Regions from separate parts of the Homo sapiens genome. Here regions 1, 2, 3 and 4 are each linked to region 5. Evidence: promoter capture Hi-C in 16 types of primary human blood cells and fetal thymus (Javierre and others, 2016). All regions are on one chromosome and are shown on one strand. The core of a region is centred on a gene start or on the middle of the fragment in contact, and the rest is flanking DNA. Distances in the headings are between cores, read along the strand shown.

Region 1 (5,783 bases), core at 13-2,512, 260 kb after region 5:
TTATTTTTAATATGCCTTATTAATAAAGTAACTATAAAATGCTCTTAAACCTATACAATTTCACTCCAGGTTCAAGGATCTTCAAGTGTCCTGGTTTTCCTCTATTTGCCAAGAGGTAATGCTCCACCCTACTCCTCCAGGTTTTCTCAACTGCTCATTCCTTTGTATGGACCTTCCCTCATGCCCTTGCATAAAGGCACCTTTCTTAGAAAAGCCCTGAAGTGTGGGAAAAGGACAGGTCTCTTGTTATTTTCTCTCAAACCAACGGAATTTTCATTGTGATTCTGATTATTTATGTGAGTCTTTCCCACTATGGTAAGTTTGATGAGGGAAGGGTCACATTTGTTATTGTTTACTGTTACATTCTCAAAGTCTAGAACTGTGCCCAATAAATAGGTGTTTCTTAAATTTGCTGAACAAATTAAATATGAATTTTAATTATGTATATAGCGTTAAAACATAACGATGCCTTTATGGGCAACTCGTGAAGCTCAGTAAAAGACCATCCAATCATCAGGATTCAATTGCCTTAGCTACATCTCCCCTTTTGGGAGGGAGGTGGGAGGAGGACTTCTCAAATTGTGAGACGGTGTACAATATGCTGTCTAATTCTAACGTGAAGGATAATTTGTGAAATCAATCGGCTTAATGTGAACTAATCAGTTCAAAATCTCAGGGAAGTACTATGAAAAATTGTAGATTGTTTCCCTCTCCTTTACTCTGAAGAGAAAGTATAAATTAAGTTTAAATGACTTCCCCCCTACCAGATGACTTTGATATTCAAGGTTATATTCTAGTAAAAGAATAGTGAAGGTGTTTGAAGTCTGATTACCCATTAATAAAATACTATTCTTTTCAGGAATATACAGACTTTAGTTCTCTATTATTTTAAGGCCTCTGTTAATGGAAAACAAGAAAGTTCTTCTAGTCTTTCAGTACTTACAAGTGAAGGAACCGTGAATATCTGAACCGAGAGGTCTGCGACTGAAAACTCTCTGTCGTGGTCATCTGTCACATAATCACTCTGCAAACGCTCATAGTTCTATTAAGAAGGCAAAAAAAGGCAAGGAGTGCCAGCTATCAGTTACAAAGAAAAGGCAAGCACTACTCACCAGAGTAGGTGCGGTGAAGAACTGGACAGATAGAGCAGTCACCGACACTGCTCGCTCGTGATCATCCTCCATAAAATCTCTCTGCAACTGCTGGTAATTCTAAACAACAAGGGGGAGATTCACCTCTAATCCACAATGACCAAATGTTTAAGGATTATAATGAAAAGTCAGTGCTGGAGGAAGTCAAGAAGATAACACTGCTATGAGAACAATAACTGGAATGATTTCTACCAATAGAATCCTGTATAGATATTGATTCACTATGGAAACTGTGGAATCCTGTATAAATATCGATTCTTTCTTCTGGAGCACAATGGCAGTTTACCAGCCCAAATAGGCAGTAACAGCTACTAAGCTCCCAAGATGTCATTGTATGCTGGTGGAGCTAAACCACAGCAGCATTACACTGTTTCTGATGAAATCAGACTTTCATTACTTCTGCATCATATCAGAATCATCTGATGACTCTTCCAAAGCATACATGCTTGGGCCGCCATTCTTGGTGAATCTGTTTCAGTAGATTTGAGAATGGAACACAACACATGTATTTTGAAAGAGCTCTCCAAGTGATTCTCATATACTTCGTAATTCAGGTGAATGCAAAAAAATAAGTGGTTAGCTTATGCACATGCTGCTAAAAGGGAGAACTTAACTATATTAATAACCTAGAGTTCTGAAGAGACCTTGTTTCTTAAAAAAAAAAAAAGCAAAATACATGTTTTCCTTAGCATGAAATATTTGCAATCTATTTATAAAATCAAAGTTTTCTAAATATAATTTTCTAACAAAATATACAGGCTATTTAATTTGGATCATGCCCCCCCTCCAAAAAAAAATCTATTTTTTTTTAAAGACTAAGACTGCAATGCTAATTTTAAAATGCACAAATATATTTATTAAATCATATTCATATATATGTCATTTAAACTGAGATTAGTTTCCTTATATGAATTTTAATAGAAAAAAATACCATAATTCACAATGGCATAGGTTTAAACTCTTCATTTATTATTTCATAAACATTGTATAATAGATACTCATGTTATAGGAGGTGATGAACAAGGAGTCTCACGGCTAAAATTTTATTCTATTGATAAAGAATGAAAAGATTATTTATGAAGTTTCTTAGAATTTAATATCAACACATTGACATATTACTATTAGATGTTAATTTTTTGAAGCCTAGATATAATTATGGGCATAGTTACTCTATATATAACCTATTTTCAAAATTGAAAAGCCACTTACTTTTGCAAATCGAACAGCAAATAGTTTCTTGTATTTCAAATCCATAAGCAGACTGCTCATGAACAACTGATGATATACACTCCTAGCACCTTGTAGAAAAAGATCACGGTATAAGATAAGGACACGCCCAACAATTACATTTCTCAAGTGTTATGTGATCCACAGTGGGTTTTTTTTGTTTTGTTTTGTTTTTACTTTTGAGACAGTGTCTTGCTGTGTTGCCCAGGCTGGTCTTAACTCCTGGGCTCACGCGATCCTCCTGCCTTGGCCTCCCACAGTGCTGGCATTACAAATGTGAACCACCATGCCCAGCCAACACAGCATTTTTTTTTTTTTTTAGGGTCTTGCTTTGTTGCCCAGGCTGAACTCAAACTCCTAGCTCAAGTGATCCTCTTGCCTCAGCCTCCTGTGTAGCTGAGACTACAGGCACACACCACTGAGACTGGCTTGTATTTTAAGTCTCAAAAACAAAGAAAGCCATACATGGTGGTATGTACATGTAGTCCCAGCTACTAGGGAGGCTGAGAAGGGAGGATTGCTTGAGTCCAAGAGTTGGAGGCTGCAGTGATCAATGATCATGCCACTGCACTCCTGTTGCCTGGGCAACAGAGTGAGATCCTGTCCCTTCAAAAAAGGAGCAAAATACATATTTTCCTTAGCACAAAATATTTGCAATTTGTTTATAAAACCAAGTTTTCTAAACATAATTCTGTAACAAAATATAAAGTCCATTTAAGTTGGATCATGGACCCCACCCCACCAAATCTATATTTTTCAAAGACTAAGACTGCAATGCTAATTTTAAGAAGCACAAATATATGTATTAAATATCTTCCCAAATGATAAAAACCTTTCACATCCCAATTACTTATATAGGTTCCTCTACACCTTAAAAGTAGTTAAGAGATTCACCTTTCCATAATTTGGAATCACTAAGCATCAGTCTGTCCACTAGAGAAGAGTTTTCACCATCTGGCCCTTCTTGTAAACCAACTTGACATAAAATCCGGCGAAGGCCATCTTTAAATAGAAGGAAAGGTAGAATGAGATAGCAACTTCAAATATTAAAATAGTGACATTTTAGTAGATGTTCAAATGGATCTGTAGAGTTTTAAATGTTTTCTTAAAGTTCAAATTTATTCAGAAAAGGCAAACATATTAACTGTTTTATTAATATTTTAACAAAAAGGAAATAAATTTCAAATCTCACATCACACACCATTACTCCTGAAAGTCAAAATATATGCCTATCATAAAGGCAATAACCTCTTGTGCTTTAATGAATTTAATTAAAGAGAAAAACATCCAAAAAACCACTTAATATTGTTCTTCAAGCACTTATGCTAATTAAACCAGATTACAGTGAAAGTGTTATACATTCCATAATTGAAATATAAAATGTGCTACCATTTAAAAGGAGGAATGCATGACTTCTGCATTATAATATATAGCAATGCATTTTATTAATGCTACAGAAAAAATTCTTCATTCATTAAACAAAAACTTATTGTGGACTTGGCATGTGAGACCCTGGAAAACATATTACTACAACCTTTTAAATGTAAACTTCAGAAACGTTCTTCAAATATTAATATAAGCATTAAAATAACCAAAGCTTTAACACTTATTTGTTCCATACATATATATGTACGTACATACATATATATGTACGTACGTACATACATACGTATGTATGTACGTACATACATATATACACACATACACACATATATACACACATACATACACACATACACATATACACATATATACATACCCATATACGCACATATATGTACATGCATACATATATATGTACGTGTGTGTGTATATATATGTGCGCGCGTGTGTGTGTGTGTGTGTGTGTGTGTGTATATATATATAGTTTTTTTTTTTTTTTTTTTTTTTTTTTTGGAGACAGAGTCTTACTCTGTCACCCAGGCTGCAGTGCGGTGATGTGATCTTGGCTCACTGCAACCTCTGCCTCCTGGGTTCACGCAATTCCTGTGCCTCAGCCTCCCAAGTACCTGGGATTACAGGCATGCACCACCACGCCTGGCTAATTTTTGTATTTTTAGTACAGACGGGGTTTCACACCATGTTGGCCAGGCTGGTCTTGAACTCTTGGGCTCAAGTGACCCACTTGCCTTAGCCTCTCAAAGTGCTGGGATTACCAGCATGAGCCACTGCACCTGGCCCCATACTTCATAATTTAAATCACTGTTTTCATCTTTTTCAAGCATGCAAAATTAAAAAAAAAATGGAATAACTTTCAATTATAAAAGCTGTCAAACAGAAATCCTTTAAAAGGCTAAAGACCTATGTAAGTATTAAATAGCAATATATAAATTATTAATGATTAATATCTCAAAGAAAATTTTCAGCAGGACATTACTTCCATTATACTCTTCAGTAATACTGTAGCACAACACTTGGCATGCAGGTATCCAATGGAAAACACCAAAATAAAGAACATAGGACTAAGAAAAATAACTGTAAAGATATTTATTTTCTTTTAAAAAAAATTTTAGATAGAGATGGGGTCTCCCTATATTACCCAGGCTGGTCTATGAACTCCTGGGCTCGAGGGATCGTCCCACCACAGCCTCCCAGAGTGTTATGACTAGAGGAGTGGGCCACCGTGTCAGCCTGGAAAGATAACTTTTAAATTATCTTTTAAAGTAAACGCGTTCTCTTAATCTTCCACACCTTCATATTTTCAACTCTCAGTTCTGTGTAGTAATGCTCTTTTCTAAAAGCCCTTCAATACAAATGTATTCAAATTTTTCTTTACAGTAAACATCTGAATGTCACTTATCCACAGTGTTGCCTGAAGAATAGCATAACAGCTTATATCTATCCCTGTTTTACCCTTTAGTGTTACACACCAGGCTTGTATTTTTGGTTGCAGATGTGAGGATTCTTAATTCTTACCATTACATAAAGAGAAAAATGACCGAATTTCTAGACTCTGGAATTTTTTTTTTTTTGAAACAGAGTTTCACTCTTTTGCCCAGGCTGGAGCAAAGTGGCGTGATGTTGGCTCACTGCAACCTCTGCTTCCTGGGTTCAAGTGATTCTCCTGCCTCAGCCTCCTGAGTAGCTGGGATTACAGGAACATGCCACCACGCCTGGCTAATTTTTGTATTTTTAGTAGAGATGAGGTTTTGCCATGTTGGTCAGGCTGGTCTTGAACTCCTGACCTCAGGTTATCCACCCACCTTGGCCTCCCAAAGTGCTAGGATTACAGGCATGAGCCATGGCACCTGGCCAAAAATTTTTTAAAAACGCAAATTGGTAACTTCCAATTTACAAATTTTCAGTGTTGCAAATTATTGGTAACCAAAGTTGTTGGAGTCAAATCACATAAATCAACATTAGTGTTTTATCGTTTAAACAGCTAATCACTTAGGTTTTTATTTA
Region 2 (5,880 bases), core at 1,576-4,075, 280 kb after region 5:
CACTGCATCCTCAATCTCCCCTGGCTTTGGTGATCCCCTTACCTCAGCCTCCTGAATAGCCGGGACTACAGGTGCACGCCACCATACCTGGCTAATTTTTGTAATTTTTGTATAGACGGGGATTTGCCATGTTGCCCAGGCTTGTCTTGAACTCCTGGGGTCAAGTGATCTGCCCACCTCGACCTCCCATAGGGCTGGGATTACAGCATGAGTCACCGCGCCTGGCCTTAATTAAACTCTTAAATATAAATTAAATGGTAGAGTTTGGAAGGCTTTATTCTTTGTCTAGTTCCAGGAGTATACATTCTCCAGGCAGGATTGTATGACTTTTGGCTAGGCAGGGGAGCTTGCTGGTGTCTTCTTAAAATTCAGGAAATTAAGTAGAGCTTGGACTGTTGGATAGCCATCCCACTAATGTATGAGGATAAAGCCAACAGAGCAAATGTAGGCAGATTCAAAACTTTTCATTAGAAAATTATTTTAAGTCTACTCTAACACAGGGATAAAAAAGGTAACAGAAGTCCTAAAGTATCTTTTCCAAATAAATGACATGACATTTACAGAACATAAAATTAACCATTTTAAAGTGAACAACTCAGTGGTACTTGGTACATTTATTATAACGTGCAACTACTACAATCTAGTTCCAAAACATTTCCATCACTCCAAAGTAAAACCCCTTACCTACTAAGCCATTTCTCTCCATTTTCCTCTTCCCCAGCCCCTGGCAACTACCAATCTGTTTTTTCTCTCTACAGATTTACCTATTCTGAATATTTCATATAAAAGGAATCATACAATATGTGACCTTTTGAGTCTAGCGTCTTTCACTTAATATGTTTTAGAGGTTCATGCATGTTGTAGCATGTATCAGTTCTTCATTCCTTTTTATGGACGAAAAATATTCCATTGTATGTATATTATCACAATTTGTTTATCCATTCATTCACTGATGGACATTTGGGCTGTTTCTACCTTTTGACTATTGTGAACAACATTGCTACAACATGTGTGTGCATGTACTTGCTCAACTTCGGTTTTCAGTTCTTTTGGGTATATATCTAGGTGTGAAATATACGGTAATGTTTAATATTTTGAGGAACAGCCAAACTGTTTTCCACAGCACTGAATCATTTTATATTTCCACTAGCAATATACAAGGGTTCTAATTTCTCTATATCCTTGTCAATACTTGTTATTACTTTAATAGTCATCTTACTGAGGGTGAAGCAGTATCTCACTGTGGTTTTGATTTTGCATTTCCCTAATGACTAATGATGTTCAGCATCTTTTCATGTGTTTGTTGATTATTCATATATCTTCTCTGTAAAAATGTCTATTCAAGTCTTTTGCCCATTTTTAAATTGGGTTATCTTTTTACTTGCTGAGTTGTAAGATATAAACTCTGCATACTAGATCCTTTTTGGATACATGGCTTGGATATACACACATATACTTTCTCCTGCAGTCCTAAAGTTTTATACCAGTGGTTTTTAACCTTTTTCTAAAGCACAATTCTTTTTTTTCAAATATATCTTTATTTGTCCTGTATTTCTACATACAGAACCCCAATCAACTATATAAAAATGGAGCTTCTCCAATAGAAGTGGAAAAATCTGGAACCTTGACCACTTGGCATCTTACTGTAGCAAATTACAGAACCCTTTCACAAAGCAAATGAAAAACAAAACATGTTTTCCATAGCACTGAATCATTTTGTATAAATTTTGATTTGTACATCAAAAGCTTTGGTCATTCTGATAAAATATATTTGAGACCTGTAGGATATGGGTACCAGGAAGAACTTTTTTTTTTTTTTTTTTAAAGACAGGGTCATGATCTTGGCTTGCTGCAACCTCTGCCTCCTATGGCTCAAGCGGATCCCACTTCAGCACCCCCAACCCAAGTGGCTGGGACCACAGGCACGTGCCACAACACCCAACTAATTTTTGTATTTTTTGTAGGGATGGGGTTTTGCCATTTGCCCAGGCTGGTCTCAAACTCCTGGGTTAAAGTGATCCACCCGCCTTGGCTTCCCAAAGTATTGGTATTATAGGTATGAGCCACCTTGCCTGGCTGAGGAAGGACTATTGATGTCCACTTGCCCCAAATCTATATCAGGCCTACTAACAATGTAGACGTACTTGAGTGTACCTATTCCCCTGCCATTTAAAAATAAAATCTGAAAGAAGGATCTTGAACTATACAACAAATTGTCATAAAATGTAGCAGAAGAGGGACTGCCACAGGTTGGCTAACGGATACAAGAACAAAGCTAGATAGAAAGAATGAGTTCTAATGTTCTACAGCACTATAGCATGACTATAATTAACAATTTACTGTATATTTTCAAATAGCTAGAAGAGCGGATGGTGAAGGTTTCCAAAACCAAATAATGTTAAATGCTTGAGGTGATGGATATGTTAATTACCCTGATTTGCTCATTACACATTGTATATATGTATCAAAATATCACACTGTGCCCCATAAATATCACGCTGTACCCCATAAATATGTACAATTATTGTCAATTAAAAATAATAAAACATAATCTATTGTAGCATACCATTGAAAGATTTAATCATTGTATAATTACAGTTAAGTGAGTTATTAGAAATATATGGAAAGTTTTTGAAGTTTTAAAAAAAGCAGCAGAGATTTAAGCATTTATTTTGTGGGACTCTACTATTCCATTACAAATCCATTTAAGAAAAATAATGCAGGATCAACAATTTGAAAAACACAGTAAGCAGTGGGAATTATTTGTACTGAGCTATCATCACTACACATGGTCCCATCACATAACCAATGATAATGGAAACCAGGAGATGATGATTGGGATTGGCTGTCATGTATGGTAACAGAAAAGAAAGCTATCTGGCCCCAAAAGTCTTTGTTATAATAAAGATATACAAAACTCAACTTGGTTAACTGGTCTACACATATGGGAAAAATAATCCTCTCAACCATAGGTTAGTACTCAAATAAACTTCAAGTATGCTTAAAACAAAACCCCAACCAAATAAAAAATCAGAATTAAATGAAATTTCCCAAATTTCAACTGTGTACTATTAGCAACCGTACAGCATCCACAAAATGCAAAGAACTTTCAAAGTAAACTAGTCACTGTCAATAGTGGAAGTACTATTTGCTTATCCATTTCTCACATCATCTAATGACTATTTCTCAAAATATTTCAAACTTGGGTTAAAAACAACTTTGTGAAAATGTTTTTACCTCTTCTTCCTCAATTTCAGAGGTGTTAAGTTCATGTTTTTGACAGTAAGGACCCTCTTTCCAGGCTTCAGTATCACCACAGTCACAGAAACCTCCACCTCCTGATGTTGTCATCTTGGAAAAAAATTGTAAAGTATCTTGTCAATAAATATTTACTGAGGGCTATCAGATAATAAATAAGAATATCAAGTGCTAAGGAAATACCATTGCTTAAGTGTTTAATTTCTTTGGAGGCATAAAATTAGATAAAATGCCAAACCTCTCAATGTTTTAAAGTTTATTTTAAATAAGCCTATAAGCTAATCTAAGTGATTTCAAAATAAAATAAGCTACTTTGTAATGTTTGCCTACATGACTTCCTTAATTAGGAAAATCATGAGGATCACAAGGGTTTTCTTGCTGGGTTTTGGTTAAATTGGTATAATGCTGATATCTACGCTACAGGTTGTGATGCTATAAACACAATAGACTCAGGGGTTATACAGATTCCTCTAGTTGCTGTCTCCTAGAGTCTAAGGGTGCTGCATTTGCTTTGGAGAAATTAACCAACAAAGACTATAGAAATAGTTAATTTTTCTTCTCTAATACACCTTAAATAGCCACTCTTTGAAAGGACAAGTAATAGGGGCTCAGGAAATGCAAAAGTAGACTGCCTAATAAAAGCTTTTCACCACCTGCAATGTTCAGGAATTATTCATAATTCCTTAAGACAGGGCAATGATTTAAGAAATCTGGCATCACAGAACCAGAATTAATAATTGGTAGACTAGAAATTCTGCTTTTCTTAAAATAGTATGAGGAAGAGCTTACTAACAGGTATTAGATACAGCAAATTTTAGAATAAGCCCTATTATATTCTGCCCAAAGTAAGTATTTGTGTTATATATCACAATATAATTAATGTAACCCTATAAATGACAACTATTCCCAGGGAATGCAAAGATATATGCCAAGAAATGTGGGTAGGAGTCATTTGGAAAATGACACGTGCTTGTTTCAGTTACCAAACACAGGCAGAACAGCTTAAAGGAAACTGGGCCTCTTTTACTGATTTATGAGACTAATGAACAGACAAGAATATAAGTAGCCCAATTTTGTAGCTGGGTTTTTATTATTTTTATTTTTTATTTTGGGATGGAGTCTCGCTCTGTCGCCCAGGCTGGAGTGCAGTGGTGTGATCTCAGCTCACTGCAACCTCCGCCTCCCAGGTTTAAGTGATTCTCCTGCCTCAGCCTCCCGAGCAGCTGGGATTACAGACATGCGCCACCATGTCTGGCTAATTTTTGCATTTTTAGTAGAGATGGGGTTTCACCATTGTTAGCCAGGATGGTGTTGATCTCCTGACCTCGTGATCCGCCTGCCTTGGCCTCCCAAAGTGCTGGAATTACAGGCATTAGCCACTGCGCCCGGCCCCGTAGCTGTTTTAGTTCATTATTATGAACTCCTGGGTAGAGTAAATAAAAACAAACAGGAGGAAAAGTTCTGACCCAGATGGGCTCCTGAATTAAGAATAATATTAAAATATTCCTCTCTACCATTCTGTTTTATGATTAGGGTGAAAAGTTCCATCTAACAACCCTACCCTTTGAATCTCCATGGTCTGTCTTCAATTTCCAATAGAGGAACCAGGACAGGATTTGGAATAATCTGTATTTATCTGTGTCCCTGACTTAAAAGCAAACAAACATACCTGAATTTTGAAAAGTACTGACAGCATTACAGCAGTGAAAAAATACTAAACTGGTGGGTCGTAGGTGCTGGAGTTGGGTCCTCTCCTACATTGTAGTAGATGCCTCTTTAATAAACATTAAAAAATAGCAAAAACAAACTAGTTGAAAACCAATACAGAAGAGCTGATATCTCTATTATCTTTTTTAAATCATATGCTCCAAGAAGTGTGGATTCATAATTTGTTTCTACACTGGCACCCTATATCCAATGGTATTTAAATAAACACACTGTTTAAACCACCCTCCCCCCATTTTAGTGTTAAATCTTTGCATTTTGAAAAGAAAGAAAAGATATTTATTATAAAATGCAATACTGCGCATGGTTATTATTTGGACATTACTAACCCTATATCGATGATCTCTGTGAATACTTCCCAAAAAGCACTCCATGCACAAAACACAAGTTGGATCAACTGCACAGTCTCTGTAAAGTTAAAAAAAAAAAATCAAAGTGTCAGAAAATAACTATATATTTCACAACAGAATTATTTCAAATTGGAATCCATCCTAAAAGAATGAAAACGTGAAGTTTTTTGGTGTTTTAAAAAAGGAAGTATCATTCCCAAAGATCTGTCAGATCTTTGATCAATGAAAGCAGTTTAAGGACCTGCGTCTCCATAATGGATGTGTGCTAGGGAGTCTTTCAAGGCACATATTATTAGAACAGTAAATTTTAATGTAATGGTGTGTTTTCCCATAGATTTGTGGAAATCACATTACACATTAAAACACATAGATGTATATGAAATATACTCAAAATATTTATGAATTCTTAAGATTCATATATTGGAATTTCAAATAACTTCTTCCAAACAGGTATTTGAGACCAAGGGTCTTCAAAGTGATATGTATACATCCCTAGAAAGGCAGAAGTATCAACTGAAATGCAAGAAGACAATATTTGAACTTACAT
Region 3 (5,748 bases), core at 953-3,452, 310 kb after region 5:
GAAGGATCACTTGAACCTGGCAGGTGGAGGTTGCAGTGAGCCGAGATCGCGCCACTGCACTCCAGCCTGGGTGACAGGGCAAGACTCCATCTCAGAAAAAAAAAAAAAAAGGAAAATTTCTGAAATGATATATGGGAAAATGTTAACAATGATTAATTCTGGAAAATTGGACAGTCAAAAAGGGGACAAGGCACTTTATTCTCCATCTTCTACCCTTGTATACTCAATTTTCACCAAGAAATTTAAAAAAGAAAAGTCTTCCTAACAGCAGTAAATGCATACAGCACCCAGATCTTGGTTTCTAACTACCATTCCCAAATGAAAGAAAAATCTTTAAAGAAATAGCTGATTGTACATACGGGTCAGAGCAAGTACAAAGTGAGCTGGGGCATCTTGTGCCAGAAAGGAAAGAAGCACCCACAAACTAATGAAGGCATGTGAAAAAGACAAGATGGTGTGACGGGGCTCTCACTAGCCAAATCTATGGCAATTTGAACATCAGAATTACTGTAACTAAAAAATATCAAGAAAAGCAAGAAAGTGATTATTGCAAGAGTCAAGATGTCAGTTAATTATGGGGGAAGGAAGAAAGCACACAGTGGGCTTCAAGAATGCTGGTGACAATTTTTTTTGATCAAGAATAATTACAAAAATGTTTGCTTTAATTATTTATTAAATAGCATGTATTTGTAATACAGATTTTTAAGCAGATATGGTATTTCATAATTTTTAAACAAAAACTCAAAAGTTCCAGGGAAAAAAAGAGGTCAAATAAAACAAGAGCCTCCTAGAAAGAAAATTAAAATATTTTACCTGCAAGAATATGTAGGCTCTCCTACTTTAAAAACACGACCACAAAGATGAGAAGGTTTGTTTGCTTGCTCAAGTTTTGGAAATCCAAATGCAGGATCTTCACCACAAAGGTACCATTCCATTGGTCCCAACAAAACATGCTGTGCCAGCATGTCTTCTTTCTGTGGAAAAGGGTTGGGACCCCTGCAGTAGATTTTGGGTACATAGTGGGCTAAATGCTGGTACACTTCTCTAGTGAGGTCAGTTGCTTGCAGCCATTTCTTTAAAAGAAGAAAAGAGAAGAAATGGTTTTAAACACCAACAAACTAATTTGAACAAATTCACCCTACTTTCTTTTAGGTACAAAAATAATGACAAAAGCATATTAAAATATTTTGTTTACAACACTCACCACCGTACGTTAGAAATTTAATCTATTAAAATGCCAAGTATGTTTAAATCCTACTTTTAAGTGTAAGTAAAATTAAAATGAAACAAGCCTCCCTCCTTCCCTGCAAAATGACTCTTGAAGCAATCTTCTCTAGGCAGTACCAGAAAATAATTACAAGAAATCATTATATAAGATATGAACCATTGAGCTCACCTAATGTCCTTCCTAATGCTTTGCTCAAATGTTATTCTCATTGTGATATCAATTCTCACGTCAGTTTGTCCATAGGAAGAGTGTACGGTGAATATGAACAGCCAATATGTACGGTGAACATGAACAGCCAATACACATTTCTTAATGATTGATAAGCAAGTTTATATACCAGTCTCTTATTGAATAAGTCAGTCCACAAGAGACTGTTGTACCAATTATGCCTTCTTTCTCTGATCAACTTCTCTCTCTCTATAAGGCCTTTTCCGTTTGCTCTCCCCACTAAAAACAAATTTTAAAGCATGATTCTACTTAGATCTCATAGGTACCAACTCAATAACTGAATGCATGATCTCCCCTCCATGCTCCACCAAAATCTGTTATTTTCTCCATTTCCAGCTCAACCTGGGTATCCACACCGAAAAATCTGAAAAGCTTCCCAGCACTTTGGGAGGCCAGGCCAAGCAGATCACCTGAGGTCAGGAGTTCAAGACCAGCCTGGCCAACATGGTGAAGTCTCTTCTCTACTAAAAATATAAAAATTAGCTGGATGTGGTGGCGCATGCCTGTAATCACAGTTACTCAAGAGGCTGAGGCAGGAGAAATCGCTTAAACCCAGGAGGCAGAGGTTGTAGTGAGCCAAGATCCAGCCTGGGCGACAGAGCAAGAGTCTGTCTCAAAGGACAAAAAAAAAAAAAGACTCACTTCTGCTAGAATGCAGTTAACTGAACCGTGAACAAAACCCACAGATGGAGGGAAAGAGGAAGGGGAAGTGAGTTGAAAAACTACCTATTGGGTACTATGCTCACTACCCAGGTGCAATATACTCATGTAACAAACCTGCACATGTATTCCTTAAATCTAAAGTAAAAGCTGAAATTAAAAAAAACCTCCAATGTTTACCTATGGATTACTACCTAATTCCAGTTACATTTTTATTTAAAAAAAAAAAAAAAGTATGTTCAAGTGATATGTAACATCATAAGAAGTCAACATAAGGTCTTCATTTTAGCTATTACTTGTATATTCTTCAGACCACTCCTTCTAAAAACAACATACAGAGAGATTTTAAATATGCATGAGGTGATGTATATTAACTTTCTAGTCAATTTCTGTTTTCAGAGAACTTTTACTAAAAATGTAAAAATTTTGTTCATAAGTTAAGGGACTGGATAGAAGCTTATAACCAAAAACGGTGAAAGAGTTTTCATGCTTAAAGTGAAACTAAACTATTTTCCAAATATTACTAACATTGTTGTGTTTACATTATGCAAGTAGGAAAGAGACTAAATTACTTTCAAAACAACAGCATTTCTTCCCTGGTGGCCAAGTGGTTAGGGAAAAAAAAATAAAAATAAAAATAAAACAGCAGCAGCAGCATCATTTCTTAGGAGACAATCCTACAGGCTTTAAGTATTCTCTCCCTTCAGAGTGACTCAATCAAAATTTTATATATACATACACATCCTTTAAGCTCAGTAATTATAAAGAGGACAAGTTTTAAAAAAAGAAAAAGAGTCCTCAACAAGCATACTAGAATCTTATTCTTTGAGCTAAAAGACCTCGTTTTGGCCTCATTCAAAGGTAAATGTCTCATTTTTCACCCATTGTCAGCAAACCAAAACAAGAATGAAGGTAGTCAAATGATCCTAAGCGCTTTTTTTTTTTTTTTTTTTTGAGTCTCGTGCTGTCGCCCAGGCTGGAGTGCAGTGGTACGATCTCGGCTCACTGCAACCTCTGCCTCCCAGGTTCAAGTGATTCTCCTGCCTCAGCCTCCTGAGTAGCTGGGGTTACAGGTGTGCACCACCACACGCGGCTAATTTTTGTATTTTTAGTAGAGACAAGGTTTCACTATGTTGACCAGGCTTGTCTCAAACTCCTGACATCAGGTGATCTGCCCACCTCGGCCTCCCAAAGGTGCTAGGATTCAATTTACTCTTTATGAAAGAAAAATTAAGCAATAAGACCAAAATAATTCACCTCCATGATCCTAGAAAGTTAAGTGCTTCGGACTTTTTTTTACAACATATTGAAAGATTTTATTTAAAAACCAGTTTTTTTCCTTATATTTTATGTTCCCATTCCTGTAAAACTTCACTGTTGCAAAATTTTAATACAAGAATGAAAGGTTACTTTAGAAGGGATGCTTTTTTTTTTTTTTTTTTTTTTTTGAGACGGAGTCTTGCTCTGTCACCCAGGCTGGAGTGCAGTGGCGCGATCTCGGCTCACTGAAAGCTCCGCCTCCCAGGTTCACGCCATTCTCCTGCCTCAGCCTCCCAAGTAGCTGGGACTACAGGCTAGCATGGATGCTTTCTAAAAAAAAATTATGCAGTCTAGTAACTGTAACGAGAGCAAATTTGTTCATAGATTTCTTCAACAAAAATTCAGACGCTAGTATCAGCTTCTGGTTAAGAAAAAAAAAAAAAATCGGCCAGGCTCTTTGGCTCATGCCTGTAATCCCAGCACTTGGGAGGCCAAGGCGGGTGGCTCATTTGAGTTCAGAGGTTCGAGTCTAGCTTGGGCAATATGGCAAAACCCTGTCTCTTCTAAAAATAAAAGAAGATTAGCTGGGCATGGTGGTGCATGCCTGTAGTCCCAGCTACTCAGGAGGCTGAGGTGGGAGGATCACCTGAGCCCCGGAGGTTGAGGCTTCAGTGAGGCATGATCACGCCACTGCACTTCAGCCTGGGTGACAGAGTGAGATCCTGTCTCAAAAAACAAACAAACAACAAAAAAAAAACTAGCCACTTTACATAAAAATATTATTAGTAAAACAAGCAAGTATTTCACTCTTTATTACATATTATTATAAATAACAAGACTTAAAAGTCTGGTCCAAGAAAGGCATGCATATGCTCCCCATTTTTCAAATCTTTACTACTCCTGGGCACAGTGGCTCACGCCTATAATCCCAGCACTTTGGGAGGCCAAGGTGGGCAGATCACTTGAGGCCAGGAGTTCGAGACCACCATGGCCAACATGGTGAAACCCCATCTCTACTAAAAATACAAAAATTAGCCAGGAGTGGTGGTGCACGCCTGTAATCCCAGCTACTTGGGAGGCTGAGGCAAAAGAATCGCTTGACCTCAGGAGGTGGAGGTTGCAGTGAGCCTAGATCACGCCACTGTACTCCAGCCTGGAGGACAGAGTGAGACTCCGTCTCAAAACCAAAAACTTTACTACCATTATATGAAAAAATCACAATCACCTAAAAGATTTGGGCTCTATTACAGGCACTTTAAGCTGATTAAACATACATACTTAATATAAAAAGCAAGAAAAATTTATGACTGTCTTTCAGAAGTAGCTCACACATTTCCCCAAAGAATAAAATCTATAGCTTTTCATATTAGTTCTAACATATGCTAACTGCAACTGTTTCTTCAACATGAAAAATTAAGATTTCCAGTTTGGTTGGCCTTTTGTCTTTATTTCAGACACTTGTAGCTGTCACACCCATGTGGCATAAGAGAGTAATAAGCATTCACTATCTTACTACAAGTCCCTCTTAAGGGAAGTAAAGAAACTGTCAACTCATTCCTCTAAAGTAAACATGTTATGACAATGTTTCCAGGAGCTTTCCCTCTATTAAATACTAAATTTAAGCCTTGGGATAGAAAGCAAGTACAATAAAATAAAAATGAAATGAAAAATGAAAGAATCCCTAGAGGTTAGTTAGCCTTTTATTACAGTCTCTATTATTCTATACCCAATTAAAATTGTATCCTTTAACTACTTTTGGTTTTGCTTTCAAACAAGGATAAGCAACATGTAAGTTAATCATAAAACAACTAGTGCTCATAACCATAAAAACAATAGTGTTTAAGTGGGAGTTTTAGGGAATATATTGAGAAAAATTTTAAACAAATTATATTAAGAGCTCTACAAATTAAGGAGAATATTTACAAATAAAATATAGAAATTTAATAGGTCAAAAGACTAATTGAAAATAGGCAAAGAAGACATAAAAATGGCCAATAAGCTCATAAAAAGATGTTCCAACATGACTCATGAGGGAAATGCAAATCAAAACCACAATGAGAAGGCATAACACCCAAAAGAATGGCTGTAATCAAAACACAGGCAAAAACAAGTGTTGGCAAGGATCTGGAGAAATTGGAACTCTCATGCACTACTGGTGGGAATGTAAAACAATGCAACTGCTTTGGAAAAATCTGGCAGTTCTTCAAAATAGTTAACATATGACCCACCAATTTCACTTCTAGGTATGTATATACCCAAGAGAAACAAAAGCATATGTCCCCACAAAAATTTGTAAAAAATGTTCACAGCAACATGATTCATAATACCCAAAAAGTAGAAACAACCCAAATATTCACCAACTGATGAACAGA
Region 4 (5,930 bases), core at 1,832-4,331, 270 kb before region 5:
GGATCCTCTGGCCTCAGCCTTCCAAGTAGCTGGGATTACAGGCACATACTGCTGCACCAGCTTAAAATGCATTTCCTAAAAGGGATTATAATCAAAAAGCATTTCAAAGCTACTAGTCTCCACCAGGGCTCCTTGAACTTTAATGAGCTTAGGAATCAGCTGGAGAGCTTGTTTGAAAAATTCACATCTTTAGACCTCACTCTCAAATACTCTAATTCCCTCATTCTGAGTCATGGTCCAGAAATCTTTTTTTTTTCTTTTGAGACAGGGTTTGACTCCTGTTGCCCAGGCTGGAGTGCAGTGGCAAGATCTCAGCTCACTGCAACCTCTGCCTCCCAGGCTCAAGCGATTCTCCTGCCTCAGCCTCCCGAGTAGCTGGAATTATATGCACGTGACACCATGCCCAGGTACTTTTTGTATTTTTAGTAGAGATGGGGTTTCCCCACGTTGGCCAGGCTGGTCTCAAACTCCTGGCCTCAAGTGATCTTCCCGCCTCAGCCTCCCGAAGTGCTGGGATTTCAGGTATGAGCCACTGTGCCTGGCCTGCATTTCTTTTTTTTTTTTTTTTTTTTTTGAGACAAAGTCTTGCTCTTGTCTCCCAGGCTGGAGTGCAATGGCACGATCTTGGCTCACTGCAACCTCCATCTCCCGGGTTCAAGTGATTCTCCTGCCTCAGCCTCCCGAGTAGCTTGGATTACAGGCACCTACCACCACACCTGGCTAATTTTTGTATTTTTAGTAGAGACGGGGTTTCACCATGTTGGCCAGGCTGGTCTCGTACTCCTGACCTCGTGATCTGCCCGCCTCGGCCTCCCAAAGTGCTGGGATTACAGGTGTGAGCCACTGAGCCCTGCCTGTTTTTTTTAAAAGCATCCTCTCTATGTAACGCAGAGTATGGTCCTTGGAGAGTGTAGAACCCAACTTATTAAAGTTCCCCCATCATATTTAAGACACTATGGCAAAAAAGTGTGAAAAAGATATTTAGCAAAGATGGTGATGACTTGCAGTCAAATAGAGTCCCTTAGGTCACATGAGAAAGGTAACTGACTTCCTGTCAGCCTATGTCTCATCCCAGCCAGAGAATCCCACCTTGACTCCCCTGACTCTTGAAGCCATCCCCTTTCTGCCATTCAACTACATCCTGTCCTTGTGAACTAAACTCAAATGGTTTTCTCTACTAGGAAGACTTCTTTGTTAACCACAACCATCTGTCCACCTACAGGACATGGGTGTCTTCAACATCTCTTAATGCCTCCCACTTGCTTTCTGTTTTACCTCAAGTCTGTAAGGCACAGGTCATACTCATGTACCTAATCTCCTCACTAGATCATAAGTGCCCCAAGGGCAAGATGCCTGTCCTTTCCCCCCCTCCCCTCCCTTTGAGACAGGATCGTGCTCTGTTGCCCAGGCTGGAGTGCAGTGGTGTAATCATGGCTCACCGCAGCCTCGACCTCCTGGGCTCCAATGATTCTTCCTCCTCAGCCTCACAAGTAGCTGGGACTACAGGCATGCCCCCACGCCCGGTTAACTTTTTTTTATTTTTTGTAGAGACAGGGTCTTACTATGTTGCCCAGGCTGGTCTCAAACTCCTGAGCTGAAGCAATCCTCCTGCCTTAGCCTCCCACCGCACCTAGCTGATGCCTGTCTGTTTTAATTTTGCATTCCCAAGGGCCCCTGGGGCCACACCTGGCTCAGTGAGGAGTCACTGGCTCTGTGAGTGTCCTAATTTGTGAGCTCTTTAGTCCTGAAATCTCACTTAGCTGGTGTAGCAAGTCCCATCCTGTGGCTTCTCCTCTACAGCCACTATACACAGTTCCTGCAGTTTCATGGGGAAGGAGGTAGGGGTGTGGTGTCAGGTGGCCAGGTCACTTGTCCTGTCTGGGTCTTAGTAAATTCACATGTAATAAGAGGGGGCCAGCCTGAAGGGCACAGAGCTGCTTCCCCAGAGAGATTGGGGGCAGCCAGGGTCCCATTCACCTGATTCATCTGCCAGCCATGCCTTTCTGCTCTGCCTCCAGAGTCTGTGACCTGGGACAGCCTAGCAGGCAAGGAATGGTCCCCTGGGAGAAAGGGCAGAGCCTTCTGCCTACCCTGCCCTGAGCTCTGATTTGGTTTATGAGGTCACTTCACTGCCAGCTTGGAAGCAGACTCTCCAGTCACATGGAAGGAAGTAGATCCATTTCAGAGGGGAGAGGAGGCAGCTGTGGGCAAGAAGAACCTGAGGGAAGGAAGAAGGGGCCGGGCCACAGCAAGCCCCAGGCACTGGAAAGGTATGGACTGAGGTGGCAGGGGGTAGCAGGCAAGCTTTCCCTTCTTCACTGTTTCAACCAAGGTCTGCTCTACCACAGGGGCCCCAGCCAGGGCTCTGTGCCCAGAACAACCTCTGCGCAAAAGGCAGGAGGAAAACTGGAATGAAAGGCTGGGCAGCTACAGCCCAAGGGAGAGGACAAGATGCAAACCACAGAGGGGGAAACCCAGGCAGCCCATTCACAGAAGAGTCTTCTCCACTCAGAGCTGAAGAAACACGCTCAGGCCCACAGCTAGCCCAGCAGGCCCCTGCACTAGGACTGCTTGCTGCTTCTCCAGCTCAGAGCTCATTGCAGGTGGGCAGGCGTCCTGCTCCAATGCAAGCTCCTGCCCAGAGGCAAGGTCCGAGGGTAGCTCTTCTCCGTGAAGCCAGCATGGCAATGCAAAGCCACTTCCAGGCTACATGACCTGGGACAGGTCAGACAACCTCCTAAGCCTCAATGTCTTCATCCACAAAATGGGGATAGTAGTATATATTTCAGACGACTACCGTGATAATTACAGTAACACATGTGAAGTTCTTACCATAGGGCCTGGCCCATAGAGAGCCCTCAATAAATGGTGCCTCTGTTGCTCCTGGCCCACCCCTGGGCACCCTCTCCCTCCCTCCTTCACTCCCTGTCCTCACCTTCTGCTTGGTGCTGAGGGGCTGTGACTTCAATTTTTCATCCTTGCTCTTGGAAATCCTCAGGAACTGCTTGAGGTCTCCCTAAGGGAAAAGCCAGGCATCTCGCTCAGGTCAGTGCACAGCCATTGGCTGTAAAGCCTCAGACCAAGCAGGTGCTCGCAGAATTCCTGCCTGGGGAGGCAGTGAGAAGGCCTAAGCTAGCCTGGGCCCCTTTCCCAGGGGGAAGTTCACTGGGAGTGCAGAACTTTAAAAATATATAGGAGACGCCTCCTAGAGGCTGTCTCAGTTAGAAAGGAGGAGAATTGGCATTTCTACCCCAAGGGGAACCTCCAGACAGGTGGGGCAACAGAGCCCCCATCTTCAGTGAGCCAAGAGGAAAACAGTCCCCTACCCTCTGCCCTCAAAGATTCCTGAGAGGAAACCCCTGTCCTCCAGAGCTTTACAATCTAATCTAAACAAACAAAGGAGAACGCCAGCAGCAGAAACATACATAAAGCATTCATAAGTACTTGTTTGTTTGTTTTTAATTTTTTTGTAGAGACAGAGTCTTGCTATGTTGCCCAGGCTGGTCTCGGACTCCTGGCCTCAGGCGATCCTCCTGCCTCAGTCTCCCAAAGTGCTGGGATTACAAGTGTGAGCCACTGTGCCCAGCCGCGTAAGTACTTGTTAATGGAAAGACTGATAGGACTCCTGCCCGCTCTTGCCCCAGAACTAGGGATTTGAGAAGCAGCAGTTTGAGGACCATGGGGTGAGGGCAAGGACCAGCTGGGGAATGAAGAGGAAGGCGCAGCTCTGGGAATGACACCCTGAGTGGAGAGGAGAAGGCTGGTGGCTGGGGTAACACTCATGTCACAAGTGGTGCTAGGAAGGAGGGAGGCAAAGTGGGTTCTGATATATTTATTCTCAAGTGGGGACAAGCTTTTGGGGAGGAAAAAATAACAAACCAAAGAAAACAAGAGTCAGAGAAGATGACCTGGAAGGCATCCCTGCAGTGTGACAGTGAGAAGTCCCAGAAAAACTTAGGACCAACGCCCCTGAGATACAGATGGAAAGACTGGGTGCTGATAAAGGGAAAGCAGGCATCCAAGAGCAGGGAAGGCAGAAGCTGAGCATCATAAGGTGGGCAAAGTGTAACAGCAGGCAGGTGAGGTCTCGGCTGAGACTGCACGAGACAAGGTTTTCACGGTGCTCCAACCACTGACTCCCACCTTTGTAGGACACTGCCCTCCCTACCCGAGACCCCCACGTCCCCTGCCAACAGCATACCAGATCCACATATTCCAGCACCATGTAGTGGGGCTCAGCCTCCCGGCACAGCCCCAGGAGCCGCACCACGTTGGCGTGGTTCAGCTTCCCAAACATCTCCAACTCCCTCCGGAAGTCCAGCTGCTGCTGCTCATCCTTGCTCTGCAGGCTCTTCACAAGTACCAGGGTCTCTGCCACTCCCTCCTCCAAGCCCTGAGCCTTTGCCAGGAACACCTCCCCAAACTCACTCTTCCCTGTGGGTACAGTCTGAGTCAGCCAGCCACCTTCACCCAGGCCGAGGCAGCTCCTGACCTGGGGGAGGGGCCTAGCCTCTCCCACAGTGGGGACCCACCCACCTGGGCTGGGCACGAGACCCGGTTCTGCTGTGACCCCCTCCCTCCTTAGGCTTCAGTGTCTGCAGCAACAAAATAAAAGGGTGGGACTAATATTCAGCATTTTCCAAAGGGTGACTCGCATGAGAATTTTTGGTGGCTCATGGTAAACATGTCTTAACGTATGCTAGGAAAAAACGTAACTATGACAAACCCATGATTTCTCATATTTTTTCCTAGAACAATGGTAACTTAGTTTTTTTTTTTAAAGAGTCAATTTAAATAAAACATCAAGTAAATAATACTACAGGTAGTACACAGGAATGACAAAATCTGCACGAAGGGCAGTGAATAACAGGCTCTGGGGCCACACTGGGCTAGATCTCTACCTATGCTTCCCTCCACCTCTAACATTCTAGGTTTCAGGGACTTCAGAACACTAGCCCGTACCCAGCCTCAAGACACAGCGGGTGACTTGTAGTTAGGCAGGGGCAGCTGTAGTCAAGGCAACATACCCAGCGTGGTGATGGGCTGCAGGCTAGACCGTGGGAAGTGCATCTTATCACTTGTGCTGTGGCGTTTGTTGGTGGCCGCGGGGCCGGAGCCCAAGCTGGTCAAGGCCACTTCTTCTTGGATCTCTGCTGAGGGCTGCCCGTTCTGCAAAGGCCCACCTGGGAAGGAGGAGGACAAGAGCGTCACGATGAGACCTGACACTCTGGCCACCATGGGGATTTCTGTTCTGTCCCCTGGTCTTCCACTCTTGCCAACTTGGGTCCAATCACAGTGCTCCACATGAAAGGGCAAGCCCAAATGATGAAATAATGGGGCTGGGGCTGGGTGGGGGATGTATGGCTATCCCCTAGGGTATGACCCCTTAGTGATGCAGCTGATTATGACCTCTGAGATGAAGCCAACTGCAGACATCTAATCTGAATCACTGGTCCTTAATACCATAGCTACACATAAGGATTTTTGCTTTCATGGGGCCTCCTATTGGGCAAAGCCCTAAACAGGCACAAAGGGAAAATCACAATAATGGAGACCCAACCTCTGCTCCTGAACACCTGAGCTGATAGGAGAGACCCAGCAATGACCTCAAGGAGCTCCCAGTCCAGGAAGTGGGGATAGGAGAAGGGAAGTAAACAGAAAGACTGCCCCTGGGGGAGCTCTTAGACTCATAGAGGGAGACAAGACATGCAACAGCAACGTGTGTACATATACTAATGATATCTGTGGTTTTGTGCTGGGAGGAGGAAACAGCAGGGAATCATAGGAAGCTGGTCCAAGGGGCTCCAATGAAGAAGTCTCAAGCCAGGTTGCTCAGAAGACGAGGCCCTGGGAATCCAACTCCAGGCTTCCCGCTAGGGGTGGGGCAGTCCCAGCTCCAGGACCCAGCAACAGCCGCTCGGTTTCCAGAG
Region 5 (5,826 bases), core at 1,949-4,448:
CTGCCTCAGCCTCCCAAGTAGCTGGGATTACAGGCATGCGCCACCACACCCGGCTAATTTTTGTATTTTTAGTAGAGACAGGGTCACCTTGTTGGCCAGCTTGGTCTCAAACTCCTGACTTCAGGAGATCCACCTGCCTCAGCCTCCCAAAGTGCTGGGATAACAGGCATGAGCTACCACACCTGGCCAAAGACCCCACTTATTTTTTTTTTTTTTTTTTTGAGACAGGGTTTTGCTCTGTCACTCAGGCTGGAGTGCAGTGGCACAATCTCAGCTCACTGCAACCTCCGCCTCTCGGGTTCAAGCAATTCTCCTGCCTCAGCCCCCTGATTAGCTAGGATTACAGGCGCATGCCACAGTGCCCGTCTAATTTTTTGTATTTTTAGTAGAGATGGGGTTTCACCATGTTGGCCAGGCTGGTCTTGAACTCCTGACCTCAAGTAATCTGCCCGCCTCAGCCTCCCAAAGTGTTGGGATTACAGATGTGAGCCCAGCTGACCTCACTCTTAAAAAAAAAAAAAAAAAAAAATTCAGGGGAAAAAATGAAAAATAACCGTAAAAAGTAATACAAATTTTTAAAATACATTATGTACACTGTATTAGCTATCAGTAATCCAGGCCAGGCAGGGTGGCTCAGGCCTGTAATCCCAGCACTTTGGAAGGCCGGTGGGTGATCACTTGAGGCCGGGAGTTTGAGACCAGCATGGCCAACATGTCAAAACATCTCTACTAAAAATACAAAAATCAGCCGGTGGCCGGGTGGGGTGGCTGACATCAGTAATCGCAGCACTTTGGGAGGCCGAGGTGGGCAGATCACTTGAGTCCATGAGTTGGACACCAGCCTGGCCAACATGGTGAAACCCGGTCTCTACTAAAAATACAAAAATTAGCAGGGCATGGTGGCACATCCTTGTAATCCCAGCTACTTGGGAGGCTGAGGCAGGAGAATCGCTTGAACCCGGGAGGCGGCGGAGGTTGTGGTAAGCCAAGATCGCATCACTGCACTCCAGCCTGGGTGACAGAGTGAGTCTCTGTCTCAAAAAACAAAACAAAATTAAATTAAGTTAAAAAAAAAATTAGCCAGGTGTGGTGGCGCATGCTTGTAATCCTAGCTACTTGGTTGGCTGAGGCACGAGAATTGCTTGAGCCCAGTAGGCAGAGGTTGCAGTGAGTCGAGATTGTGCCACTGCACTCCACTCTAGGCAAGAGTGAGACTCTTGCCTCAAAATAAATAAATAAATAAATAAAGCTATTAAGCAATCCAGAGAGGATTTAAACTACATAGGCGGAAGGAGTATAGATTATATGCAAATACTACAACCAGTTATTTATTTATTTATTTATTTTTTGAGAGAGTGTCTCGCTCTGTCGCCCAGGCTGGAGTACAGTGGCACGAACTTGGCTCACTGCAACCTCCACCTCCCGAGTTCACGCCATTCTCCTGCCTCGGCCTCCCGAGTAGCTGGGACTACAGGAGCCTGCCACCATGCCCGGCTAATTTTTTATATTTTTAGTAGAGACGGGGTTTCACCGTGTTAGCCAGGATGGTCTCGATCTCCTGACCTCGTGATACGCCCGCCTCGGCCTCCCAAAGTGCAGGGATTACAGGCGTGAGCCACCGCGCCCGGCCTACTACAACCATTTTATATAAGGGACTTCAGCAGTCTGAGATTTAGGCATCTGTGGGAGTCCTGGAACCAACCCCTTAAGGACACTGAGAGACAACTATACCTGGTCTGTCAAACCGTTGGGGGGAGCTCGTCAATACCAAATGTAGTCCAACACATGCGGGATAAAACTCACCAAATAAAAATTCTAATTACTTTCTCTTGGTTCCCCACCATTACCTCCTTCTTTGCCAAAAGTGCCTGCTTTGCCTGGGTGGCTTTGAGGGCTTGATAAGCCTTCCTCTTTTTCAGGAGATTTTCTGGAACCAAAGGGATTTTTCTTTGCCTGATGCAGAAAATTGAGATCAGAGATAACATTTAGAAAAGAACACTTGGCCGGGCTCGGTGGCTCAAGCCTGTAATCCCAGCACTCTGGGAGGCCGAGGTGGGTGGATTACCTGAGGTCAGGAGTTCGAGACCAGCCTGACCAACATGGTGAAACCCCCGTTTCTACTAAAAATAAAAAATCAGCTGGGCGTGGTGGCGCACGCCTGTAATCCCAGCTACTCGGGAGACTGAGGCAGGAGAATCGCTTGAACCCGGGAGGCGGAGGTTGCACCGAGCCGAGATCCCGACACTGCGCTCCAGCCTGGGGGACAGAGCAAGACTCCGTCTCAAAACAAAAACAACAACAAAAAAGAAAACGAACATTCAATGGATTTCCAAACCAATTCAATATCCTGGGCTTTAGGGAACATTACTGTTTTCAAGTATCTGAAGAAAGATTCCCCTGAAACCTGCGGTTTCTGACTCCAGGCCTCATAAATCCATCCCTAATAGTCACTCATCCCCAAAGCCTCGGAAAATAATGAATCCTTTAGCCTCTGGGTTCGTATAAGTTAACAGGGTTTTCACGGCCACAGTTCTTCATAGGCACTAGCAGCGACGAATCTATGGGGTTGGGGCGGGGGCAGGCCTATCTGCAGAGTTAACACTTGTCGGGCTGGGTGAATTCAACTGTGGCACTCCAGCCCGCTGCCTGAAGTCAATCCTCGCCTCTCCAGATAACCCGAACTTGACCGCGGTCCCCTCCCTCCTCCGCCACAGCGCTACTCCTCCTCACCCCCACCCTTTGTAAACTGTGGCCTTTTCTATTCCTAGAGCCCACAGGAATCCGCCACCAAGGCATAAACACCGTGGATGGCACCGGATACTCAAGACCCCACTCCAGATATTCAAAGCCCCAAACACTCACTCTTGCTCCGCCATCTTTCTAGTGGTGCAGCTACTGATCATGCGCAACCCCACCACATGGGGAAGACAGCACACGCTCTGTTTACTTGACCATAGAGACGTCTGTTCTAGCTCACGCTGGAGGACCAGTCAGCGTTCACTTAGCCGCAGTGAGCCCTTGAGGTCCCGCTAACCCCGATTCCTGCCAAAAGTTGCACCGCTTCTTAGGGTTTTTAGAGCCTGTGTTATTTTCAAAACCCAGCCCTTTTCTTGTAAGTTACAGTTTCATCACAAGCGGCCTGGCTGTGGACAGCAAAGTGCTTCCCACAATGCACCTATGGCGTCCGCTCCTAGCTACGGCGCCGCACTTCCGGCGCGGCTGTGCTGCGTCTCTGGGGAGGAAGACAGGCAAACTCCGCGAAACATTTTCGCTCTGTGGAAAAACTTGGAGGCTATGGCTTTGGCTCTCACGTGTAGGTGGAAGTGTTTGTTGAGGACTTAGAGTGGTAAAGCAGGTAGCTGCAATTCCGTCTGCTTGGCCCCGTCGATGCGTCCTTGAACACGTTATTTAACCCCTCTATACTGCGGCTTCATTACCCATAAAATGGGTGTACAGTAATAATAGGTCTACCTAATGGCGTTACGAGGATTACAGGAGATTAGATAAAGCGTTTAGCAGTGTCTGTCAGCACTATGTTTGTTACTATTACTGCTGGACCGAAAACTACAACATGCTTCCTTCCCGTCTAAAACCGTTACACAGGCCGGGCGCGGTGGCTCACGCCTGTAATCCCAGCACTTTGGGAGGGAGGCCGAGACGGGAGGATCACCTGAGGTCAGGAGTTCGAGATCAGCCTGGCCAACACGGCGAAACCCCGTCTTGGGCGGAGGTTACAGTGAGCCGAGATCGCGCCACTGCCCACCAGCCTGGGCGACAGAGCAAGACTCCGTCTCAAAAAAACAAAAAGAAAAGAAAAGAAAAAAAAAGAATAAAAATAAAACCCTTATGCAGCTCTCATCGCCCGGAATTTGCGTTCTTCCCTCCCAGTCTATATAGAATCCTGAAAAACAGTAGGTCGGGCCGGTGGCTTTCACCTGTAATCCCAGCACTTTGGGAGGCCAAGGCAGGTGGATCACTTGAGGTCAGGAGTTGGAGACCAGCATGGCTAAGATGGTGAAACCCCGTCTCTACTAAAAATACAAAAAATTAGCTGGGCGTGGTGGCTCGCGCCTGAAGTCCCAGAAGGCGGAGGCTGCGTGAGCCGAGTTTGTGCCACTTGCACTCCAGCCTGGGCGACAGAGCGAGACAGTCTCAAAAAAAACAAGAAATAAATTTTTTTTAAAATTAAAAATCCTGAAAAACAACACAAGTCTTATCATCTCTGGAAACCTCCAGAGCAGCGCTTCTCAAGCATTAATAGTGAATAGGAGTCACCTGAAGATTTTACTAAAATACAGATTTTTATTCAGGAGGCCGGGTGGGGAGCTGATATTCTGCTTTTTTTTTTTTTTTTTTTTTGAGATGGCGTCTCGCTCTGTCGCCCAGGCTGGAGTGCAGTGGCGCGATCTTGGCTCACTGCAAGCTCCGCCTCCCGGGTTCACGCCATTCTCCTGCCTCAGCCTCCCGAGTAGCTGGGACTACAGGCGCCCGCCACCACGCCTGGCTAATTTTTTGAATTTTTAGTAGAGATTTCACCTTGTTAGCCAGGATGGTCTCGATCTCCTGACCTCGTGATCCGCCCGCCTCGGCCTCCCAAAGTGCTGGGATTACAGGCGTGAGCCACCGCACCTGGCCAATATTCTGCATTTTTAACAGGCTTCAGAGTGACGCTGGTGCTACTGGTCTATGGGCTGACTAGTAAGACTCTAGAGTAGTGTCTGATTTCCCTCAGGACATTATTATATTTTTAATATTTCTTCCACATGATACTAGGGGGGGCAGGAACCATGACTGCTTACTCATCACTGATCCTAAGGATCTAGCACCAATTTCTCGATTTTGGCACTATTGATACTGATACTGGTGGCAGCTAAAGGCCTCGTGTTGCCATGTAACTAGTCCAACCGGAAAGAGTGCCATGGGCACAGGTCACTTTCTGATGAGTAAGTGTCAGGACAACCCAGCATTCAAGGTCACACACTGAAAGAGGGAGGCTCATTCTCTTTCAGCACCTCACCATGTGTCTTTGTAAAGAGGCTAAACACAAGGGTCACCAAAGTGTAAGACATTCACTAAATAGTAAACAAAAAAGCAAAAAGTTAAATGTTTTGTGATTTTTCCTGTCTATGGATAAAAGGTAGAGTCTGTGGTACCAATAATATTAAAAGGAGGAGGAATTTTAGGGTTAACAATACTTCAGCCAGGCGGCGATGGCTCACGCCTGTAATCCCAGCACTTTGGGAGGCCGAGGCAGGCAGATCACTTGAGCTCAGGAGTTCAAGACCATCCTCAGCAACATGGCAAAACCCTGTCTCTACCAAAAATACAAAAATTAGCCGGGCATGGTGGCACATGTCTGTAGTCAGCTACTTGGGAGGCTGAGGCACGAGAATTGCTTGAACCTGGGAGGCGGAGGTTGCAGTGAGCCGAGATTATGCCACTGCACTCCAGCCTGGGCAACAGAGCAAGAATCTGTGTCAAAACAACCCCCAAAAAACCAGTACTCCAAGACTGAATGGGATTGAGGCCAGGATTCAGGAATGGCTTTCTACTGCCAGCAGATGGTGCTAGGAGAATACTTATTCTCAGTGCCAATCCCCTTACTCCACCAGACTGACAAAGGGAAAAAGAAAGGAGCCCCACCTCTTAAACAATTATTCACTAACTGAATATGTGTTTATTGAGCATTGAGCATGTGTCCTAGATTTTTTTTCAAAGTGAGGTTACTGAGGTCAGGTGTGGTGGCTCATGCCTGTAATCCCAGCACTTTGGGAGGCTGAGGCAGGCAGATCGCCCGAGGCCAGAAGTTCAAAACCAGCCTGGCCA

Evidence for each region. The method cuts DNA at HindIII sites, captures the fragments that hold promoters and counts their contacts. A CHiCAGO score of 5 or more calls a contact.
Region 1: a fragment that was not itself captured here is called in contact with the fragment with the promoter of RPL7L1 in region 5 in 4 of 17 cell types (M2 macrophages, M0 macrophages, megakaryocytes and 1 more); the score reaches 8.6 in M2 macrophages.
Region 2: a fragment that was not itself captured here is called in contact with the fragment with the promoter of RPL7L1 in region 5 in 2 of 17 cell types (M0 macrophages and total CD8 T cells); the score reaches 6.0 in M0 macrophages.
Region 3: a fragment that was not itself captured here is called in contact with the fragment with the promoter of RPL7L1 in region 5 in 1 of 17 cell types (megakaryocytes); the score reaches 5.5 in megakaryocytes.
Region 4: a fragment that was not itself captured here is called in contact with the fragment with the promoter of RPL7L1 in region 5 in 1 of 17 cell types (naive CD8 T cells); the score reaches 5.7 in naive CD8 T cells.

Annotation. Positions count from the first base shown.
Region 1 is chr6:42,612,668-42,618,450 of GRCh38, reverse strand. It overlaps UBR2 (ubiquitin protein ligase E3 component n-recognin 2), which reads right to left. Exons shown (of 47, transcript NM_001363705.2): 9 at 3,273-3,380; 10 at 2,361-2,449; 11 at 944-1,042. Among named protein-coding and RNA genes, the nearest start is that of UBR2, 52 kb to the right of the region's middle. The HindIII fragment of the contact is 5,430 bases long and covers 1-3,977 here.
Region 2 is chr6:42,591,662-42,597,541 of GRCh38, reverse strand. It overlaps UBR2 (ubiquitin protein ligase E3 component n-recognin 2), which reads right to left. Exons shown (of 47, transcript NM_001363705.2): 3 at 5,313-5,391; 4 at 3,238-3,351. Among named protein-coding and RNA genes, the nearest start is that of UBR2, 31 kb to the right of the region's middle. The HindIII fragment of the contact is 2,154 bases long and covers 1,749-3,902 here.
Region 3 is chr6:42,569,059-42,574,806 of GRCh38, reverse strand. UBR2 (ubiquitin protein ligase E3 component n-recognin 2) reads right to left here. Exons shown (of 47, transcript NM_001363705.2): 2 at 814-1,073. Among named protein-coding and RNA genes, the nearest start is that of UBR2, 7.9 kb to the right of the region's middle. RefSeq lists enhancers at 1,848-1,897, 1,988-2,047. The HindIII fragment of the contact is 744 bases long and covers 1,831-2,574 here.
Region 4 is chr6:43,143,704-43,149,633 of GRCh38, reverse strand. It overlaps PTK7 (protein tyrosine kinase 7 (inactive)), which reads right to left. Exons shown (of 20, transcript NM_002821.5): 15 at 5,028-5,183; 16 at 4,202-4,434; 17 at 2,936-3,016. Among named protein-coding and RNA genes, the nearest start is that of SRF, 25 kb to the left of the region's middle. The HindIII fragment of the contact is 1,549 bases long and covers 2,307-3,855 here.
Region 5 is chr6:42,876,988-42,882,813 of GRCh38, reverse strand. It overlaps RPL7L1 (ribosomal protein L7 like 1), which reads right to left and starts at 3,198. Exons shown (of 6, transcript NM_001366481.3): 1 at 2,863-3,198; 2 at 1,848-1,953. The coding sequence starts at 2,903. RefSeq lists enhancers at 2,937-2,996, 2,272-3,228, 3,017-3,486, 3,229-4,186. The HindIII fragment of the contact is 10,267 bases long and covers 1-5,826 here.